Regions from separate parts of the Homo sapiens genome. Here region 1 is linked to region 2. Evidence: promoter capture Hi-C in human tissues and cell types (Jung and others, 2019). All regions are on one chromosome and are shown on one strand. The core of a region is centred on a gene start or on the middle of the fragment in contact, and the rest is flanking DNA. Distances in the headings are between cores, read along the strand shown.

Evidence for each region. The method cuts DNA at HindIII sites, captures the fragments that hold promoters and counts their contacts. A contact is called where the count stands out against the background at its distance.
Region 1: a fragment that was not itself captured here is called in contact with the fragment with the promoter of AGBL4 in region 2 in 1 of the 25 tissues and cell types used here (H1 embryonic stem cells).

Annotation. Positions count from the first base shown.
Region 1 is chr1:50,596,853-50,602,546 of GRCh38, forward strand. All of the region lies in intron 8 of FAF1 (Fas associated factor 1), which reads right to left. Among named protein-coding and RNA genes, the nearest start is that of FAF1-AS1, 160 kb to the left of the region's middle. The HindIII fragment of the contact is 4,142 bases long and covers 804-4,945 here.
Region 2 is chr1:50,022,431-50,027,971 of GRCh38, forward strand. AGBL4 (AGBL carboxypeptidase 4) reads right to left here and starts at 1,524. Exons shown (of 14, transcript NM_032785.4): 1 at 1,333-1,524. The coding sequence starts at 1,366. LOC105378708 (a long non-coding RNA gene) reads left to right here and starts at 1,591. Exons shown (of 3, transcript XR_947311.3): 1 at 1,591-1,692. The HindIII fragment of the contact is 7,609 bases long and covers 1-5,340 here.

The DNA.
Region 1 (5,694 bases), core at 1,625-4,124, 580 kb after region 2:
ATAAGACATGATTATTCCTAGAGCTCTGTATAATCTCACAATTGCAAGTATTAAAAGTCCTTATAAACCTGTCTTTAAAAGATACTTTGAAAAATGTCTTGGGAAGATGATGAATATACATACATAGGACAAATGAAACCAAAACAAAACAAAAAATAAGCAAATGAAAAAATTACAACTGTCCTTAATGACACCTAGATAGGGATAGTATTTGATTATTACTTTCTCCACAGCGTAGGGATAATAAGGTTGAGTTTATGGGTAAAGCAATGAGAAAATGCCTAGCACACAGTTGGTGGCTCAACAAACATTACTTTTTACTAGTCTGTGAAGAATATCTGTGGCTTGAGATAAAATGTCCAGCGAAAAGGATGGACTCTAGAAAACATGACTTTAGCAGAAACACCTTCCTCACCTAGACTGTTCCATGAGAGAAGCCCACTGTCACCTTATATTCTGGGGTCTTTCTAAGTTAGCCTGTTCCTTAATTAACACAAGAGTAGTTATCTTATTCAATTCAATTATTTAGTCTTTACAATGTCAACCAAAAAGAAAAAAAAAAGTGACCCTAGTGGTGATGATGATGCTTATATATAAAAAAATGCCCATAGAATTTGAATAAATATCATGAAATATGAGGGTAGCTACAAAAGCAGTATTTGTAAATTAACATTATATAATATTAACATTATTTTAAGTATATGTGTCCAATTAAATAATTTGACAATTATACTACATCAACACAAAAAGTTTATGCATTTAAATTATCCAAAGAAAACCCTTTTTCACAAAAATAATTATTATTTTACAGTATTTATATTTTTAAGGCCACATCTTAAGGAAAAAATAGCTATAGTTGGCAAGAATTTAATTGTTCTTGTCAGCTGTCAATGATTGAAATATAAGGATGGTAAATCATTTTTTGACAAGACATGAAGAAAAATGAACAAAATTAAGTAAATTTGTTCTGTTAAAAAGTAATCCATGGAAAAGGCAGGCACTTAACAAATTCTTGTTGATCCCTAAAGGAACTTTTTCTATTTAGTAACAGGAGACGGCTAAGTGTAGAATGGACTTTTAAACTCAGAGTGTCCTGAGTTCAAATTCACTTCTACTATTCACTCGAATCAATATTTTCCATCTCGAAACTAAGTTTCCTGGCTGGGCGTGGTGGCTCATGCCTGTAATTCCAGCACTTTGCAAGGCTGAGTCAGGAGGATAGCCTGAGCTCAGGAGTTCAAGACCAGCTTGGGCAACATAGTGAGATCTTGTCTCTAAAAACATAAACAAAAGATTAGCTGGGTATGGGGGTGCACGCCTGTAGTCCTTGCTACTTGGGTTGCTGAGGCAGGAGGATCACTTGAGCCCAGGTGGTTAAGGCTGCAGTGAGCTGTGATCATGCCACTGTACTCCAGCTTGGGTGACAGAGTGAGACCCTGTCTCCAAAAAAAGAAAAACCAATTAGCTGGGCATGGTGGAACACACCCATAGTCCAGCTACTAGGGAGGCTGAGATGGGAGGATTGCTTGAGCCCAGGAGGTCAAGGCTGCAGAGAACTGAGATCATGCCACTGCATTCTAGCCTGGGTGATAAAGCAAGAACCTGTCTTTAAAAAAAAAAAAAAAAAAAAAAAGGCTAAGTTTTCTGTTCTGTAAAATTAACATGACCTTTCCTAACAGGCTTTCTGTGAGGATGGCTTAAATGAGAATACACTTGCTACATAGTAGATATTCTATCAGTGAGTGAATACTCAAAGTCCATTTGAAGTTTTTTCTTTTCTTCTTACAAACAGTATTTAGTGTTAAGAACATACTGTGCTGGGCGCAATGGCTCATGTGCTGGGCGCGGTGGCTCACGCCTGTAATCTCAGCACTTTGGGAGGCTGAGGCGAGTGGATCACCTGAGGTCAAGAATTCGAGACCAGCCTGACCAACATGGTGAAATCCCATTTCTACTAAATACAAAAAATTAGCCGGGCATGGTGGTTCATGCTTGTAATCCCAGCTACTTGGGAGGCTGAGGCAGGAGAATTGCTTGAACCTGGGAAGTGGAGGTTGCAGTAAGCTGAGATTGTGCCATTGCACTCCAACCTGGACAACAAGAGTGAAACTCCGTCTCAAAAAAAAAAGAACATACTATGTGATTCTCAAAGTATGTACTACAGGCACAGGGTTCTTGAGATTCTTTCAGTAGTTCCATAAGGTCAAAATTATTTCATAATAATACTTAAATGGCATTAGACTTTTTCACTGTGTTGTATTTATTTATTTATTTTCTTGAGAGGGAACCTCGCTCTGTCACCCAGGCTGGAGTGCAGTGGTACGATCTCAGCTCACTGCAACCTCCACCTCCCAGGTTCGAGTGATTCTCCTGCTTCAGCCTCCGAAGCAGCTGGGATTACAGGTGTGTGCCACCATGCCTGGCTAATTTTTGTATCTTTGTAGAGACGGGGTTTTAACACGTTGGCCAGGCTGGTCTTGAACTCCTGACCTCAGGTGATCTGCCCACCTCAGCCTCCCAAAGTGCTGGGATTACAGGCCTAAGCCACCACACCTGGCCACAGTGTTTTTATACTGATGTTAAAAAAAGCAATGGTAGGCAAATCTGCTGGTACTTCAGCACAAATTAAGGTAGTAACACCAAGCTGTTAAAAATCTCCAGTTCCATTTACTCACTGTAAAAATGGCAGTTTCATTTAATAATGTCCCTGTTAAATCAGTAAAAATTATTAAGTAATTTAATTTATTTATTAAGTAAATTTTGACTCTTAATACATGTCTTTTAATATTCTATGTGACAAATGGGAAGTATGTATAAAGGACTTCTACAGCATACCAAAGTATAATGGATGGGTTGAAGAAAAAGCATGTGTGTTTCAGTTATATGCTGAATCAGCCACTTTTTTTCAGAAACACCATTACTACTTAAACAAATGATGGGCAGACAAACTGTGGTTATTTGGATTTGGTATTTAGACAAGTATCCCTTATTTAAAATGCTTGGGACCAGAGGTGTTTCAGACTTAGAACTGTTTTGGGTTTTGGAATATTGGCATCATATATACCTAACAGTTGAGCATCTCAAATCTAAAAATCCAAAATCTGAAATGCTCCAATGAGCATTTCCTTTTAACATCATGTTGCTGCTTAAAAAGTTTCAGATTTTCAGATTACGGATACTCAACCTGTGATTGAGTATCCCTAATTGCTGAACATTTTCTCCAAAATGAATGAAGTGAGACTACTACTTCAAGGAACAGGTCTGACAGTATTAATTGCCAATGACAAAATTTGAGTTTTCATGTAAAAATTAAGAGTTTTAAAAACTATCAGCCATCATGAGCTTGACAGCTTCTCAATGCTTAAAGCCTTTGTGATGCGTTCAGTGGTTATATTAATATAATAGATGTGACTTTTTATATCATGTAATGAAATGTGTCAACATTTAGAAAATCTGCATAACTCACAAGACCAATATTCTCCAAATGAACAGTGATTGCATGATGTTATAAAATTATGTATGGATAAAGGTTTAATTCAAACTGTGAGGCAGACCAATGTATCTTACTGTGACAAAGTATTAATACAAAATGTATAGTGGTAGGGCTTCAGATTCTACATTGAAAGTAACATTTAGCTTTACCCGAGAAAGCTCCTTGCCACATATACACACACAAAAAAATTAAAATAAAAAAAATAAGACTAACCTTTAGGAAACTACCACTTCTCAAGTTCTAGTTTAGTATCAAAGAATAATATCTATAATTATTTGAAAAGACTATTAAAATACTCCTCCCTTTTCCAACTATAGATCTGTAGGAGGTCAGATTTTCTTCATATTTTCAATCAAAAAAATTCATTACAACAGGTTAAATGCAGAAGAAGGAAGACACGAAAATCCAGTTGTCTTCTATTAAGACAGACATTAAAGAGATTTGTAAAAGTATAAAAACAGTGTCACTTTACTTACTGAATTTTTAGAAAATATAATTACTTTGTATAAAAATGCTATTTATATTAACATGTAATTCACTTGTTATCTTAAATATTATTTTCTTCAATATTAATTTTTAGAATGGTAAATGTCAATGAATATAATCCACATAAACAAAAGCTCTCTGGGGTCTTTGATGATTTCTTTACAAGTGCAAAAGGATCCTGAGACCAAAAAGCTGTGAACTGCTGAACTATGTAATGTGTACATATGCAACTAATTTTCATGAATAATGACAACTATTACTTGAAACAACTGAGAAGACAAAAAAGCTCTTTCAAAATCTTAGAATCTTTTCGATGTTTCTTCTTTACACAATAAACAAAGCATATAGTATTTTCTTTGTATTATTCTTTATGTTATTCTTCACATGAAAATAAAATACTAGGACAATATGCAAAGGAAAACTCCAGTAAACCATCATGACTGATCTCTGGCTATGTCTAACAAGTTGTTAGTAAAACACAGTATTATCATGTTAAGCTTGGTCCTCAGAGCATTTAAGGCCATTCTTAATACTTCTTTCTTTAAAAATATGAATTAGTAGGCTGGGCGTGGTGGCTCGGTGTGAGACACCTGTAATTCCAGCACTTTGGGAGGCCAAGGAGGGCAGATCACTTGAGGCCAGCAGTTCGAGACCAGCCTGACCAACGTGGTGAAACCCCGTCTCTACTAAAAATACAAAAACTAGCTCGGCATGGTGGCGGGAGCCTGTACTCTCAGGCACTCGGGAGGCTGAGGCAGGAGAACTGTTTGAACCCGGGAGGCAGAGGTTGCAGTGAGCTGAGATTGAGCCGCTGCACTCCAGCCTGGGTGAGACTCAGTCTCAAACAATACATATATATTCATATATATATATATACACACACACACTATATATATTCATATACACACATATATTCATATATACACATATATATTCATATGTATACATATATTCATATATACATATATTCATATACATATGAATTAGTTCTTCAAAGTATTTTTTATTTTATAGCCAAATTTTAACCCTCCCCAAATACATGCTTGCAGTCTGTCTTTTTTTCTAATTATAAATGACAAAGAATAAGACATTTTAAGAGTATTGGAAGCTATAAAACCTGTTATGGGACCTTGGGTCAGTAACCAAGAGTCTTAACATCTCCTTTTGTAAAATATAGGTACGACCAACTAAATGGCCTCTCAGATCCCTTCTAGCCCTAATGGGCTATGATCTTCATACATCACTAAGGAGATTTGGTTATGTCACCTGCAGACTCCTTGCTCTGCATGTGACACACCCAGTAACACAAGTGAACGAGATTCAAACTACAGCTTTACTGTTTTTATCTTTTATTCACTCAGTTTGTAAAATACAATTCTCTTGTGTTTTAAGAAGAACAATTAATATGAGACATTTTTTAAAAACCATATCTCAAGCTTGTCATCGTCCTCACAAGACACTGATGTAATTTCATCCAGATTTGGGAATGCTACCGGATATTAGCACTGACTACACTGCACTGATGATCTTTTTAATCTGTGTATTTGTATGTCAAGATGTATCCAACTGTACACTTAAAAAATGTATGGTTTATTACAGGTCAATTATACTTCAATAAGGCAGTATTCAGTGCTATTAATATATGCATTTATATCCTCATATAAAGTATTGCTTTTTTTTTTTTTTTTTGAGACAGAGTCTCACTCTGCCACCCA
Region 2 (5,541 bases), core at 274-2,773:
TGTTCAAGTTATGAGGGAGCTAAAACTATAAAATGAGTAGAGGAGCTACTCAATAAAACAGAGGTGCCATGAAAGAAAGAGAAATAATGAAGGCCTTGAGACATAATGGTTCCTCGAACTTATTTCTGAGGGTGTCATAGTTTTCAGTTCCAGTTTCTGGGGTGTGGTGTGTATGTACCATAACCACACACACACACACACACACACACACACACACACACACACACACACCAGGACCAAAGTAATTCAAGTGGATCACTCTTGTAATGATAATACCTGATCAGGACATATATACAAGGTTATGTATACCACTGCCAACACCCATCACACACATATTCCCAAAGCCACTTCTTTTCTACCCACACACCCATGCCATCCCGTAACATCCAGTTCTTCAGTGGTCAGCCTCATTTAGAGGCAAACTCCCTCCCACATACTCAAAACTGTAAAAACCTTTGCTTTCTTCTATGACCCTGTGAGAAACTTAAAGTCAGTATCTCACAAATCCCAGCCATATGCACAAGGGGTCCCCTCAGGAATAGGATCCTGGGTCTCCCTTCCTGTCAGTCTTCCTGTCCCTTAAAGGCTATCTTCTACCCACAGAAGTGTGGACATGCACTCCTTTGATTCTGAATGACCTTCAAGATCATTGAACCCACACACACTCACACTCACGCTCCAGCCTCCTTTGGTAGGCTCCTAAAGGACTGGGGCTCCGGGTATCCCCTCAAGGCCTCTTGTCTTTTTAAGGACCCATACAAGAATTATTTGCATAAATTTCTCTGTGACCAGGAGTGACCCTGAGGACACTGCACATCCCCAAACACAAATACTCTAACTCCCCCTTCCATGGCACTGTCTGATATTAAAGTAACACACCTTCCACGTATACCTCCCTCTTTAGAGTCAGAGCCTCCTACTCCCACCCCGAGCCCAAATCATGCCCCTTTAGGGATCTCTCCCATGCTCCCACAGGGCAGTGTACACCCTTTCCATGACACAGCCTAGCCCTAGGATTAGCCTTCACCACAGGTGATCCCAGGATTAAGATCCTGTCTCTTCCCTCAGGTCCCAGCCCCTTTCGGGCCCATGTTCTGTCAGAAGTGTGCACACTAACCCACACTCCCCTCCACCACCCGGACTTCGAGGTCCCTGCCCGCCATTCAGAGGGGTGCACGCCACCCTTGACCCCTGACCCTGAAGTCATAACCCACCGCGCAAATATACAGGACCGCCTCCTCAGGAGTAGGACCATGCCCGAGTCCCCTGTTGCCTGAGACCCAGGACAGCCTGGCCGCCTCAGCCTTCCCCAGATCGGCCGCCCCCACAGACCTGCCTCAGGCGCCGACTGGCTCCCCTCCGCCATTTTTGTTGTCCCTCAGTCTCCGAGCTCACGCGAAGACCGCGGGGCAGTAGGGAGCGGGTGGTGGGATCAGTGGGCTGACAGGAGCTACCTCAGGAAGACGCGGCACGACGGTTGCCTGGGCAACGGGCGGCAGGCGCGCGGGTGGCCGGCGCGCGGCTGAGGGCGGGAGGGACGCCTGGGAGGAGCGTGCGTCCAAGGCCCCGCCCCCGCGGCGCGAGCCCGGGCCTGAGCTGGGACTTGGGCCCCGGGGCGCTGCTCCTCCGCAACCGATCCACCGCATCCTGGCAACTGAGCAGGCTCCGCCACCCCTAGAGCACAGGGGCCAGGTCTGTAGGGATGGCGCTTTCCTGACGGCGACCGGGGTCCTCGTACTGACCGCCCAGACTAGCTAAACTGGCTTTTCTGTGGTTGGTGCTCAACTTTGGGGACTTGGGACAGGTTTCTTGATTTCCCAAAGCTTCTCCCCTTGGTTTGCCTGGGTTACTCGTCTTCAACTGAAATGCACTGAAAACCAACTGTGTGCCCACCCCAACCCAAACACACAGAGGCCCAAAGGGTTCTGGCTCCTTGCCCCTCTGCGACAGCAACCCTCAACCCCAGAAAAGACTTATCCTTTTGCTGACGTATTTTTCAGTAAATATGGGCTGCTGTTTCCCACCTTTCAGTAGTGACACGCCGTTATCGTCTAAAACCAAGCTGGAACATTACCCGTCCTGACCAGCTCTGCCCTCCCGCAGTCCCCTGTATATTCCCTCTATTCCAAATGCTTTATGCATTATTTCCTTCTCGACCATGAGCTCTCTGATACCTACGGTTGTTCTCTTATCTTTGTATACTCCATAGTGCAGCGTGGTGCATGACACAAAGTAGGATCTCAGTCAATGTCTGCTGAATGGAAAATGGTGGTAATCTGAAAGGAAATGAGGTGGAGAGAGTGAAAGAGGGAAGGGGGAAAAACGCTAAGAAAAATGTGTTATTGAGCTGATTGCTTTAGTAGACAACTATTTTTAATCTTGCTTCAGACTCTGAAAAACAGGGTAGAATGTGTGCCTGCCGTTGTCCCACTGAAGAACACAGAGTCTGGGGCATTTGTCTCCTAATTTCTGTCTCCATTGGTTGAGGGTTGCTCTCCACCTTCCAGCTTGAACTCTCTCACATTTCCTGGTTATGCTTGCCAGGGCTGAGCAGACTTCTAGAGTTTGAGAGAAAGCCTTGAGGCAGAAATGCAGAGACGGACCGGAAGGCCTTCTAAGTAAGATGCTGGCCACATGCATGGAACTGTCCATTCATCTGCATTAAAATCAGGGATAAGAATCTTGTACAGAAAGTTACATGAAAATAGCTATCAGAATTATCTCTCACATTTGAACAGTTTAAAATTCACAAGCCATGTCCACACAACTATCAAGATGAATATATATGTGCTTTCCACAGTCCTAATGACACTTATGTAAAGGCTGTGAGGGTTTTGGGAATTTCGGTGTCGGAGGAGTCAATAAGGGCTAAGAAGAACAAAAGAACTACATTAAGTATAGGGAGATGGAAAAATAAAGAGAAAGATGTGGGTTCTACTCAGACTGATGTTATAGCTTTATAATCTTGGGCAAATCACTTAAACTTACTGAGCCTCAGTTTCCTCTTCCAACAAACTGAGACAAAGGTCCTGCCTACCACAAAGAGTAGCTCTAAGACACAAATAGGGTGATGAATGAAAATGCATTTGATGAGTATGAGCCAGGCTCTGTGCAGATGCTGAGGATAAAGAGACAAATATAACATTATTAAATTGAACCACATTGGTCAATTTAAATTTTAAGTAAAATTTAGAACTCAGTTATTTAATCAGAATTGCCACTTTTCAAGTGCTCAATAGCTACATGTGGCTACTGGCTACCATATTGGACAACATATGTATAGAACATTTCCATCACTGCAGAAAGTTTTGTTAGTCAGAATTGATAGACAAATGCCTTACTGGGCAGAGGAGACGAAAAGCCTGGAAAACCAGCTTGCTGACAGGACCAGGTTCGGTTCTCCTCTGTGTCAGCTATTCCTCAGGAAGCAGTGCAGGAGGGAGTATAGACTTCTTCACTACTGCTGGAGTCTTCAGAGACTTCCCTTTTGTTGTGTGAAAAATAACACAGCATGGGAAGTGGGGGGAAAACGTCCCCTACATGGGCTCCTGGGAATTAGTTTCCCCGTGCTACCATTCATATGTCCCTGGGAGGTCTGTCTTCCCCAGAGACCTCCTATGATTTCTGTCTCCACAGAAAACACCCACCCACAACAAGGGTGCCTTCTTTCAAGCAAAATATACCCTGTAGGATTCACCCACTCCCTCCATAAACATTCATTAAAATGATACCTTCCATGTGCCTGGCCACTAAGTTAGATGCAGAATGGAATGAGAGAAATATTTAATTTATAATCATATTTTTACGAGCACAAACTCATTTCATTCTCAGAGCAGCATTATGATATTTGTATTAATATCAGCCTCTTGTACAGAAGATGAAATTGAGGCTCACAGAGTTTAAGTGACTTATACAAAGTTTCAGGCAGAAAGTAGCAGACTCAGGGAAGACTGAAATTATGCTAGGAAATTCATCTGTGTTATCTCATGTAATTTTCACATCAAAAATACCATGCCTTTGAAGTTTACAAACTAATTGGAAAGAAAGGATTAACATGCACAAATTCAGTTTACAATTAATTTCCAAACAATGTGGTAAGAGCAATGACACAGGCATGCTCAGCAAAGTGGAGGAGCACTAAAGAGAGATCCCCTTGATGGGCATCTATAGCCACAGCCCACCAGAAGTATTCAAAATAGCCAATCCTAAATGTTTACTCTGCTCTACCTTGCGATTCTCACAGAAATCCCAATAAAGGCTTTGGCCTAGGATTTCCCCTTGCTCCTGTGTTCTGACACCAAACCAAAACCTGGTGTTTCCCCTGTGACCCTTCATGGCATAAACTTCTTTCCAAGCCTTGTTCTCATTTACTCCTGTGGCCACACCCACTTAATCATACCATATCCAACATTTATATTCTTAGGACATACTTGTTATTCTGCTCTTTAATAAACAGGCTATTGTTGTTTACTCTTTCCATGTAAAATTTTAAATCAGCTTGCCTAATTGCAAAAAAAAAAAAAAGAAAAAAAGAAAAAAGTAATAATGTTGCTGGTATTTTATTAGAATTGTGATAAATTTATAGATTAATTTAGGGAGAAATGACATCTTTATGATACTGAGTCCTTTTATCCAAGTACATGATATATCTTATAATCTGTTTAAGTCTTCTATGTCCTTCAGAAATATTTAACAAATAGTTTTTTTTTTTTTTTTGGAGACATAGTTTCTGTCACTGAGGCTGGAGTGCAGTGGCGCAATCTTGGCTCACTGCAACCTCTGCTTCACCGGTTCAAGTGATTCTCCTGCCTCAGCCTCCTGAGTAGCTGGGACTACAAGCACAGACCACCATGCCACCATGTATTTTGTTTTAGTAGAATCTGGATTTTACCATGTTGGCCAGCTAGTCTCAAACTTCTGACCTCAAGTGATTCGGCCTTCCAAAGTGCTGGGATATGTGTGAGCCACCACACCTGGCCAAAACATTATAATGAGATATTTTATATACATTTTCATACTATGTCTTTAAAATCAGGTTTGTGTTTTACACCCACAGCATGTTTCAATCTGAATTAGCCACCTTTCAAGTGCTCAGAAGACACATATGGCCGGCAGCTACCATACTGGAAAGCACAGGTCTAAACACTCTAATTAAAAGGCAGAGATTGACAGAGTGAATTGGGGGAAAAAATAAGCGAGACCTAATTCTATGCTGTATACAAGAAATTTACTATAAATATAAAGATATATATGGGTTAAAGTAAACAGAAGGAAAAACAGACTTTACAAACACTTATCCAAAGAAGGCTGGATTAATATCAAAGTAGACTTCAGAACAGAATATATTGCTAAAATAGTTAAAGAGGACATTACATAATTATAGAGGTCTTCTCAGCAAGAAGATGTATAACATCATTCTTAATAATGAATTACTGAATGCTTATGGTGTAAGGCCTAAAAATAACACTATATGCTGCCTTCACATCTAGTAAAAACAGGAGGGCCTGGAATTACCTAACCACAAGTTCTCCTCCCCATTCT